Regions from separate parts of the Homo sapiens genome. Here all the other regions are linked to region 3. The links are contacts of gene promoters, found by promoter capture Hi-C in blood cells and fetal thymus (Javierre and others, 2016). All regions are on one chromosome and are shown on one strand. Each heading gives the region's core, a stretch centred on a gene start or on the middle of the fragment in contact. The rest is flanking DNA. Distances are from core to core; before and after follow the strand shown. Region 1 has its middle 48 kb from the start of ARL4C. Region 2 has its middle 14 kb from the start of ARL4C. Region 3 holds the start of SPP2 (secreted phosphoprotein 2). Region 4 has its middle 65 kb from the start of ARL4C.

Region 1 (2,700 bases), core at 41-2,540, 490 kb before region 3:
TGCAAGATCACTAATATGATATAACTGACTAATAATGAGGATTTTTTTACAGCCTGTAATGAAATAATATCACGGTACAGACTCGTTATAATTCTTCCTCCTCCTTGCATCTCACTTATTTAACTAGAATTGAAGTAGGGAGAAAAAGAAACCTTCCATTCATCCTGTGGAGAACAGCTAATAATTGGGAAAAGCTGCCTGAATATTATACAGGTAGATGTGAGTCCGCCACTATGTTTTTATCCTCAGGGATCCAAGAATTTTAGGTTTGTATGTGAGGAGGGAGGGATGGAAGTGAGAAGGGTCTTTTAAAACTAAATGAAACCATGAGGAGATACCATCTCTTCTGGATTAAAAAACTTATTTTTTTTTTTTCATCCAGGCACGGTGGCTCACACCTGTAATCCTAGCACTTTGGGAGGCCGAGGTGGGTGGATCATTTGAGGTCAGGAGTTCGAGACCAGCCTGGCCAACATGATAAAACCCCATCTCTACTAAAAATACAAAATAAGCCGGGTGTGGTGGCAGGTACCTGTAGTCCCAGCTACTCAGGAGGCTGAGGCAGGAGAATCACTTGAACCCGGGGGGTGGAGGTTGCAGTGAGCTGAAATCGTGCCACTGCACGCCAGCCTGGGCGACAGAGTGAGACTCTGTGTGACATTTGAATGCCTCAAATGTCAAAAAAGAAAAGTTATTTTTTTCAACTTGCCTTTTTGGGGGATTCATGAGAGTCTAAGTTAGGGCTTCCCTAAAGAAAACTGGGAGAGAGCTGCAGAAATACAATATAGAGAAGTCAGAAAATACAGACACTCAAAAAATAACCCCAAAGTACTTCAATGTTATGACTTAAAACAGAGCTCACCATCCCCCTTCAGAATGTTTTCCTTCACTTGCAAGAGCACAGACACCTTTTGTTTGTTAGAGATCACCAGGAAAGCTCATTCTATACCCAGTCTTCCGGCCTCCCGGGAAACTGACCGTCTTCCGTGTCGGTAAATCCGGATCTATTCAGATGAGCTTTTTACGGTGCAATTTCTGATTCTAGTCATAATTACCACACAGCTCCTCCTGGGTGTGTGTAATCCTGTGCCATATAAAACCTGAGAGCACTGTAGTTCTCAATCCAAAATCAATCCATTTAGCTTTCAAACACCCTACAAGCTCATTTATTTTCTCAAATTGGTTTTTGCTTAACCAAGTGTTAAAATGAGTTTAGAACCCGCGGGCGCGCACGGGTGGGACAGGTAAGCAGCCCTACTGGGCGGTGCTGCACGCAGGGGCAAAGCAGCCCCAGGTGAACCCTGACATCCGCCCCAGGGACATCCCGGCCCGGCTCTGGTTCTCGCTCTGCGTTTCTTCTCTTCACCACCAGGGGGCAGGCTCCTAGCGGGATGAAAACCCTGCGCTGCCTGATGCTGCATGGGTTTGCTGGGTGGGTCCCGCTTCCACACTGGGGATCCTTGAGAAAGAGACGGTCTTTGATGACTTTGGCTACTGATTCAGCATTCCAGACCAAAAAAGCCGTATCTAGAGAGCCAAATTCTACTGAACAGCTAGGAAGTGTGGAGGTAGTCCTTCCTTCCTCTCTCCCTCCCTCCCTCCCTCCTTCCCTCCCTCCTTTCCTTTCCTTTCCTTCCTTGCTTCCTTCCTTCCCTCCTTCCTTCCTTGCTCCCTTCCTTCCTTCCTTCCTCCCTCCCTCTCTCCTTCCTTCCCTCCCTTCCTTGCTTCCTTCCTTCCTTCCTCCCTCTCTCCCTCTCTCCTTCCCTTCCCTTCCTTCCTTCCTTCCTTCCTTCCTTCCTTCCTTCCTTCCTCCCTCTCTCCCTCTCTCCTTCCCTTCCTTCCTTCCTTCCTTCCTTCCTTCCTTCCTTCCTTCCTTCCTTCCCTCATTCATTCACTTCTGGCTAGCTCCACAAATGTGTTGATGGCCCCACACCTTGCTAGACACTGGGCACCACCATAAGTAAGGCATTTACCTCGATCTCCAGGAGCTCCCTGCGAGGGTGTGGCTGCCCTCTTGCCGTGATCACGTGAGGTCCATCTCATTGGAGTTTTAAAAAGTAGGTTAGCACCTTCCAGGAAGGTGAGGGTGAGCAAACAGAGGAAAGGGGCTTCCATTACGTTTCAAGCAAATTCCTCGTGCTTTCCGGGCACTCTCTGGTCTGCACCCCGCTGCTGTTCCTGAACCCTGCGGGCCCATCCTTCCCTGCCTTCCTGCGTGCCATGCCCTCTGCCCCAGACACACCTCCCTGACTCCTCACATTCCTGCTCCTTCCACCCTCTCCAAGGTCATCCTCCTGGCCCTCTGTGGCTGACCCTGGTCAGCACAGCTTGATGACTTAGTCCAAGCTGCAAGAATAGACTCTTCTGCAGGCCTCCTTTGTCTGTCATCCATCACCCTCACAAGAACAGAAACCTCACAGGTGCGCAGTCTCTGCTCACCAATGGGCCTACAGCATCGAGAACGCTCCCTGGCACACAGTGCTCAGCAAATGCCTGTTGAATAAGATTGTCATCTGTGTCTGAGGACTGGTGAATAAATAGAGGCAAGGAGGTAAGGAACAGCCTAAAAGGCATGAAGATGTAGGGTGGATGATCCATGGGGACCAGGTCGGGAGAGAGATGCAGGTGAAGGAGAGACCCCAGAGAGAGCCCTACCTAGTGAGAGGCCCTCAGGCTCCAGGCCACACACGCTAGGACCAG
Region 2 (2,700 bases), core at 2-2,501, 460 kb before region 3:
TCTTCTCTACCATCATTTAGGCAACTTGGAGTTGATTTTGTGCATTACCATAAACTGTGATGTTCTAGTTAACAACTAACTTCCAATTTTGTAATGTTCACATTCAAATTACATTACAATTAGTCATTCTATAGCACCCTTAAATTGAAGTTATTATTATAGGTATTGTGGGTTAAAGTTATTATTAACTTTATTATTTATTGAAGTTATTATTACAGGTATTGTAGGTAGAAAGTGGGGACTTCTGATGGGCCAGGATTTTCTCCAAACTCCCCTTACCACACCCACCTTAAAGGCCAAGGTCCCATAGTGTCCAGCCATACCTGGCTGAATCCTTCACCTCAGCCAGACATCCTTGATGCTGTCTGGGGGGAGAGGACATGGAAAGTTACTGAGTGGTCTCCTTGGCCCAAGAGGCAGCAGGGCTCCCACCACCTATGGGCCCAGATGAGACCATCAAGCTCATTCCCAACCAAATGCAGAGAAATGGGCTTATTCTCTCCTAAAGCTGGAGGCTGTGTCCTTAGATATTCTATCAAAAGGCGTGTGGCAGGGCTTCACCAGCCTCCCACTTCTCTGCTGGGTTCTGGCTGTGAGAATGAGTCAATGGTAGTGAAGGAGGTAAGAAGAGGAATGGGGGAGGAAGAGTGACTCAGTAGGGGCAATGGTGAGATTAGTTGGAATGGTCTAGGGGTGTCCATGGGACAACCCAGTGGAAACTGAACAGGGATTTGGACATAGTTCAAGGCACAGTAGAAGCAAATATCTGGGAAGAAGAATCCACTGGAAACTCAACAACAACACCAAAAACAACCAAGTTTAAAAAGGGACAAGGGACTTGAATAGAGATTTCTCCAAAGAAAACATCCAAATGGCCAATGAGTGCATGAAGAGATGTTCAACATCACTGACCACTAGTGAAATGCAAATCAAAACCACAACGAGACACCATCTCACACTCATCAGGATGGCTAGAATTAAAAAAAAAAAAAAAAAAAGGACAGGCCAGGTGTGGTGGCTCATGCCTGTAACCCCAGCACTTTGGGAGGCCGAGATTGGTGGATCACAAGGTCAGGAGATTGAGACCATCCTGGCTAACACAGTGAAACCCCGTCTCTACTAAAAATACAAAAAATTAGCCGGGCATGGTAGCGGGTGCCTGTAGTCCCAGCTACTCAGGAGGCTGAGGCAGGAGAATGATGTGAACCCGGGAGGCAGAGCTTGCAGTGAGCCAAGATTGCGCCACTGCACTCCAGCCTGGGTGACAGTGAGACTCCGTCTCAAAAAAAAAAAAAAAAAAAGAACATAACAAATACTGGTGATCATGCAGAGAAATTGGAAATTTGTGCACTTCTGGTGGGATTGTAATGGTGCAGCTGGTATGGAAAACAGCATGGCAGTTCCTACAAAACTTAAACACAAAAATACAACATGACTGAGCAATCTCATTTCCAGATATATACCCAAAAGAATTGGAAGCAGGGTTTTGAAGGGATATCTGTACACTCATGTTCATAGCAACATTATTCACAATTGCCAAAAGGTGAAAGCAACTCAAGTATCTGTTGACAGATGAATGAGTAAACAAAATGTGGCACATATGTAAAACGGGAAATTATTTAGCTTTAAAAAGGGAAGATATTCTGACACATGCTACAACATGGATGAGATTTGAGGACATTATGCGAAGTGGAATAAGCCAGTCGAAAAAAGACAAACACTGTATGATTCCATTTATATGAGGTACTTAGTGTAGTCAAAATCATAAAGACAGAAAGTAGAATGGTGATTTCCAGGGGCTGAGAGGAGGGGGAAATAATGAAACATTATTATTAATGGGTAGTTTCAGTTTTACAAGATGAAAAGAGTTATGAGGGTGAATGGTGGTGATGTTTGCTCAATATTCTGAATATATTTAATACCACTGAACTGTACATTTAAAACTGGTTAAGATGGTAAATTTTATGTTATGTGTATTTTCTCACAACAAAAACCTCCTCCTTGTGGAGGAGGAGAAGAATTCACTGGAGCAAAAAAACTGTCCCTTGAAGGCAGGTGTGGTGTGGAACAAGAGCCAAGCAGAGGGCTCAGAAAACACTCACAGTTCAGGGTTAAATGGAAGAAAAGGACTTTGTGAGAGAACCTCAAAATATACAAGAGAGCTAGGAGCAAGGACTACAATGAAAGCCAAAGAAAGGCAAGTCAGAGAGAGTTTTGTGAAAAAAGAATGTGGTTAACAGCACCAGATGCAACTGAGGCAATAAGTATGATTAGGACTAAAATAGGTCCAGTTTGTGCAGCAATTAGGAGGTGACCTTTGCCAGCACAGGTTCAGAGAGTGGGGAAGGGCATGACAGATATGAGCAGACAGAAAGTTGCATTGTGAGAGAAGCAGAGACCCTCTGAGAAGGGAAGGAGTAAAACTGTAGGACAATAGCTAGAGGGCCACACAAATCTAAAAGAGACAGCGAAAGAGAGAGGGAGACAGAGAGAGACAGGGAGAGAGAGATGAGGAGAGAGAGAGTTGAGACAGCTGAGACTTGAATAGGGGCTATATTTTAAGAGGATTTATAAATCTTTGTGCTTTTGTGGCCAAGAGCATCCCCTACACACAGTGGAAGCTCAATCAACATCTGGTAAATAGACAACAAAGAAAATTTTTATTTATGATTACAAAGCTGAGGGAATGATGGTGGAATG
Region 3 (2,700 bases), core at 72-2,571:
CTGAATATGTTGTATTTGGAGACTAGAACTAGGAAATCATGAGCCATGTGCTCTACAGAGTAGCAGAGGGAACAAGCTAAGAGTCAGTCCAGGAGGGATGGGAGAAGGCAGCAGGCAGACAGAGAGAAAGCAATGTCCATCTGGCCTCTGCTGCCTGGACCTTCAGCCGTGTCTTCATTCTCATTCCCATGCTGCCTGGCTATACAGAGCCTTCATTCCTAAGATGTGCAACTTTATAGAACCTCTCTACCTCCCACCTTAACCTAAATTTGCTTGAAAATATGTTCATCCCTACCTCCAAATGAGCCCCATGCAGATGATAATAAGGCAGTGAAATTACCTGGGGAACAGGAAGAAGGGAGATGACTTGCTGCTTATGTTTCTCATTTCCTTTGAAGGATATTTTTACATTTCTTTCCTTGCATATCACAGACTTAGTCATTGGAAGCCCAAGTGATTACTCTTTCTTTAGCTCCCAAAGCTAAGAGGAAACAGACTATTACCAAATTGACAAGGAAAGGTGAATTTCTTTGACTCAAAAGCCAGATTATTTCCAGTAAGTATTAGGAGCAGAACTGCTGAATTTGAAAGGAGGCTCATTTCCAATAAATGAGAAGTTCGTAATAAAACACCTCAGAAAGAATCGCGAGGACTTCAAGTACAAAAGCAGGCTGCAGGGAACCAGAAGACAAGGTTAGAGAGGAGAATACAGCAGAAGAATCAGTCATCAAAAGTGGTTTGGATAGCCTCATGACAAAAAATTGTAATTAAATCTTTCTCTGTCAAAGAAAAGAGACAGTATGAAAGAGATGACTAGCTACTATCATTTTTAAACTGGAGAAAATTTCTTAAAAGTATATCCAATGAACTGACAAAAGGCAGACAGCATTGGAAGGAGGAGTAGAGAAGATTTCATTTTGCACTTACTCTTTTTAATGAGCTTCTGAATGCCCGAAACAGATACGGACTCAGTGACTGGGAATTCACTTTTACCACAGAGGCACTGAGGGCATCCCTTAAGGAGGATGGATCGTAGTCGTACACTGGGAAACCTGGACACGCAAGCACATGGGGCACAGTGAGACAAGACACAGGCGCCAGCATGGCTCTGCATGATCCAGAGCAGGTGGCCAGGTTGGTGAATACCTTACCTGAGCAAGACCAGTAGTTCATTCCAAGAGCAAACATAATCAATATCTTCATCATCATCGTCATCTTCTCCATTCTGGAAATCATGATTGTAATCGAGAGACAGAGAGTGTCTCTCTATGTGTTTGGGGATGACAGTTCTTCCTAAGAGGAGCTGTCTTTATCAAACACTGGCTGCTTATTTTGACTGCAGCAATCTGTAACTTAAACAGAAACAATTGATCCTGGGGTCAATATTTTCTGCTGACTTTTCCTATGGAAAGGTTCCAGTTTGAGGACACTTTTGAAGTTTACAACTCACAAGAGAACTTTAGCCCAAGGCAAAAGGCATCAAGAGGCTCAGGATTCCACGTGTGCTGTTTATTTTTCTCTATTTTAATTTCATTCTTTGGAGGGGATATAATCTTACATTCAACAAAATGGTTAATCTTAAATTGTTGTGTATTGAGATCCCCTCATGGTTCTAAAGATCTTGCAGTTGACTACTTATGAAAATAGTGTGGGTATAAGATCTTCTTGGAAATTATGACTTTGGAGAAGATAATTTTATATAGGGGTCCTAAATATTCGAAGCAAGTACAAGTGCAGTAAAAAGCTGGGACACACCATCCTATTAACCAATCTTCTGTGCTACTGGACACTTTTGCACATCACCTGGATAATAAGGTATTTACATATTGATGATTCCCATGCACTGTAAGATCCCAAGGTAGTTTTTGAATGATTAAAAAGGAGAACTACTTAATTGGAAGTACAGTTTGTGTTGTATGTAGGTCATTGTGTTCTTATTTGTGGATTTCACGCATAAGAAGCTGTGTTTTGTCTCAGAAAGACCTGGACTGAGATCTTGGCTCTACCATGTACCAGGAGTATCCCCTTGGGCATGGCACTCAACACCTCTGAACCTCAATTTTCTCATCTATAAAATAGGCATAAATGGTTAGAGGTCAGGTGTGTTCTTAGTCAGGGTTCTCCAGAAAGGAGAACCAAAATATAGAGGGAAAGAAAAAGAGAGATTTTTTAAATATATACTTTAAGTTCTGGGGCACATGTGCAGAACCTTCAGGTTTGTTACATAGGTATACATGTGCCATGGTTGTTTGCTGCACCCATCAACCCATCATCTACATTAGGTATTTCTCCTAATACTATCCCTCCCCCAGCCCCCCACCCCCCAACAGGCCCCGGTGTGTGATGTTCCTCTCCCTGTGTCCATTTGTTCTCATTGTTCAACTCCCACTTATGAGTGAGAACATGTGGTGTTTGGTTTTCTGTTCTTGTGTTAGTTTGCTGAGATTGATGGTTTCCAGCTTCATCCACGTCCCTACAAAGGACATGAACTCATCCCTTTTTATGGCTGCTTAGTATTCCATGGTGTATATGTGCCACATTTTCTTTATCCAGTCTATCATTGACAGGTATTTGGGTTGGTTCCAAGTCTTTGCTATTGTGAACAGTGCCACAATAAACATACCTGTGCATGTGTCTTTATAGTAGAATGATTTATAATCCTTTGTGTACATACCCAGTAATGGGATTGCTGGGTCAAAT
Region 4 (2,700 bases), core at 186-2,685, 510 kb before region 3:
CCTCACTTCCCAGACGGGGTGGCTGCTGGACGGAGGGGCTCCTCACTTCTCAGACGGGGCGGTTGCCAGGCAGAGGGTTTCCTCACTTCTCAGACGGGGCGGCCGGGCAGAGACGCTCCTCACATCCCAGACAGGGCGGCGGGGCAGAGGTGCTCCCCACCTCTCAGACGATGGGCGGCCGGGCAGAGACGCTCCTCACTTCCTAGATGGGATGGCGGCGGGGAAGAGGCGCTCCTCGCTTCCTAGATGGGATGGCGGCCGGGCAGAGACGCTCCTCACTTTCCAGACTGGGCAGCCAGGCAGAGGGGCTCCTCATATCCCAGACGATGGGCGGCCAGGCAGAGACGCTCCTCACTTCCCAGACGGGGTGGCGGACCGGCAGAGGCTGCAATCTCGGCTCTTTGGGAGGCCAAGGCAGGCGGCTGGGAGGTGGAGGTTGTAGCGAGCCGAGATCACGCCACTGCACTCCAGCCTGGGCGCCATTGAGCACTGAGTGAACGAGACTCCGTCTGCAATCCCGGCACCTCGGGAGGCCGAGGCTGGTGCATCACTCGCGGTTAGGAGCTGGAGACCAGCCCGGCCAACACAGCGAAACCCCGTCTCCACCAAAAAAATACGAAAACCAGTCAGGCGTGGCGGCGCGCGCCTGCAATCGCAGGCACTCGGCAGGCTGAGGCAGGAGAATCAGGCAGGGAGGTTGCAGTGAGCCGAGATCGCAGCAGTACAGTCCAGCTTCGGCTCGGCATCAGGGGGAGACCATGGAAGGAGACCGTGGAGAGGGGAGAGGGGAGAGGGGAGAGGGGAGAGGGGAGAGGGGAGAGGGGCCACCGTAACTCTTAAAAGACGTTTGAGTTGAGCAGAGAATATTGCATTGTTAGATGTTTTCCCTCAACATTTTGCTCCATTGTTTTCTGGCCTCTTTTTTGCTGATGAAGATGCTCTCGAACAGATAGCCATTCCCTAGGCTAAAATGTGTTTTCTTTCTGGTAGTTTGAAATTGTATTTATCATCTCTGATCTGTAGTTTCACTCTGATACATCTAAATATGGAATTTTGTTTGTGTGTTTATCTTACTTGGCCCTCGACTTGTTCTTTTAGTCTGAGGAGCTCTTATTTTCCTTCCCTTCTGGAAATAATTAGCCATGACCCTACTGATTCTATTCTGTTTCATATGTACGGAGCTTTTCAGTATCTTCTCCACATCGCTTTACTTCTCTTTCATATTTCTCTCTCTCTTTATCTCTCTGTGCTGCATTTTGATTGATTTCTGCAATTCTGTCTTACAAAGTCGCTCATCAACTTTTTTCCAGCTTATTGTTTACCTCATTGCGGCGGGCTTTGATTTCAAAACTACCTTTTTTTTCCAGATTTTGAAATTGATCTTTATTGATCATTGATCAATGGATCCATATTGATCTTGATTCCTGAGTGCTATGTTTTTGTTTCATAACTCCCTGTTCTTATTTACAGTTGCTGTCACTTTTTTTAAAACTTTCTGAGGATTTTAAACACACACTATTAAAGTCCTTTTCAGTTTTCACTATTTTTCTATTTTTTTCCAGGTGTGTATTCTCCAATTTGTTAACTTCGTGTCTTTCTTCTGGGGCATCTGATTTTGGGAGATTCTTTATAACGCTCATTTATGGGCTCGTTTGGCATAGGAGCCGTATTTTCTCTCCTGCAGGCATCACCTTTTCCTGTTTGATAATTTCAGGTATCCTCAGTCAGATCTCCAAGAGACCAAGACTCAGAGGAAGAGCGTTATTAGCAGTTCAGGGTTCTCACCCCAAGAGTTCATGGCAGCTTCGATCCTGGAACTGGTAAGCAGTTCCAAATGCCAAGATCCCGATCCGCTGTTGTTTGTCTGCCTTTTCCTTCATCACAGACCCGCAGCTACATTCTGGCTGCCATCCCAGGGGGGCAGAGAATTTGAGTTTCTTTCACGAGTGAGAGAATATAACCATAGCCCTTGGTCTCATGAAGGGTGTCCAACCTTGCCCTGCAGCCTCCCTGGGGCCATTGGATCCCACCCGGTCAGAGCTGAAGTAACGGCCCCTGCATCTGCCCTTCCGGGCTCCCGTTGTGGGAGAGCTCCAGTCTCGGCCCTCCTCTCTGTGCTTCTATCCACTTAACGATTTACAGGTTTGTTTAACTCTGACTCCCCCATGTTGACTGGAATTTGGAGGTCTCTTTCCTTCCTCTCTCTCCCACCAGTGCCCCCTAAAGTCCTCTGGAGGCTCCTCTTCCTCGGACTTCTTGCCCACCGCCCTGGGCAATCTCACCGTTACCCCTGGCGTTGCTGTTCTCCCGTGTCCTATGACTCTCAACAGTCCAAGCTGTTCTGAGCTGCAGACACCATGCCATTGTCCAAGGGATGCCCCTAGGTGCCTCCCAGTGTACACACCCCAAACCCAGGCCCTTCATCGCTTCCCCATACAAGTGATGAAGGGCCTGGGTTTGGGGTGTATACATTGGGAAGCACGCAGGGACATCCCTCCAGTGCTTCCTCTTCCTCACTAAGCTCTGCATTTCACACTTCAGTGGATGTCCAGTATCCACAGCAGAAATGGGTCCCTCTGCCTTCTCATGTGATCAGCGGCCAATGTTTTCAGCTCTCCTAGAACTCGACTGGCTCCCTTCTCTCTCTCCACCATCACTGACTTAGTTCAGGCCCATGAATACCTCTTTCCCTGGACAACT

The links. The method cuts DNA at HindIII sites, captures the fragments that hold promoters and counts their contacts. A CHiCAGO score of 5 or more calls a contact.
Region 1: a fragment that was not itself captured here is called in contact with the fragment with the promoter of SPP2 in region 3 in 6 of 17 cell types (non-activated CD4 T cells, total CD8 T cells, naive CD4 T cells and 3 more); the score reaches 11.0 in non-activated CD4 T cells.
Region 2: a contact is called between a fragment that was not itself captured here and the fragment with the promoter of SPP2 in region 3, in 9 of 17 cell types (total CD4 T cells, non-activated CD4 T cells, total CD8 T cells and 6 more). The highest score is 15.0, in total CD4 T cells.
Region 4: a contact is called between a fragment that was not itself captured here and the fragment with the promoter of SPP2 in region 3, in 1 of 17 cell types (total CD4 T cells). The highest score is 5.2, in total CD4 T cells.

What each region holds. Positions count from the first base shown.
Region 1 is chr2:234,543,783-234,546,482 of GRCh38, reverse strand. No RefSeq gene overlaps it. Among named protein-coding and RNA genes, the nearest start is that of ARL4C, 48 kb to the right of the region's middle. The HindIII fragment of the contact is 7,918 bases long and covers 1-2,700 here.
Region 2 is chr2:234,509,518-234,512,217 of GRCh38, reverse strand. No RefSeq gene overlaps it. Among named protein-coding and RNA genes, the nearest start is that of ARL4C, 14 kb to the right of the region's middle. The HindIII fragment of the contact is 3,740 bases long and covers 1-2,700 here.
Region 3 is chr2:234,049,323-234,052,022 of GRCh38, reverse strand. It overlaps SPP2 (secreted phosphoprotein 2), which reads right to left and starts at 1,321. Exons shown (of 8, transcript NM_006944.3): 1 at 1,152-1,321; 2 at 928-1,052. The coding sequence starts at 1,236. The HindIII fragment of the contact is 10,293 bases long and covers 1-2,700 here.
Region 4 is chr2:234,560,255-234,562,954 of GRCh38, reverse strand. No RefSeq gene overlaps it. Among named protein-coding and RNA genes, the nearest start is that of ARL4C, 65 kb to the right of the region's middle. RefSeq lists an enhancer at 1-222. The HindIII fragment of the contact is 6,746 bases long and covers 1-2,700 here.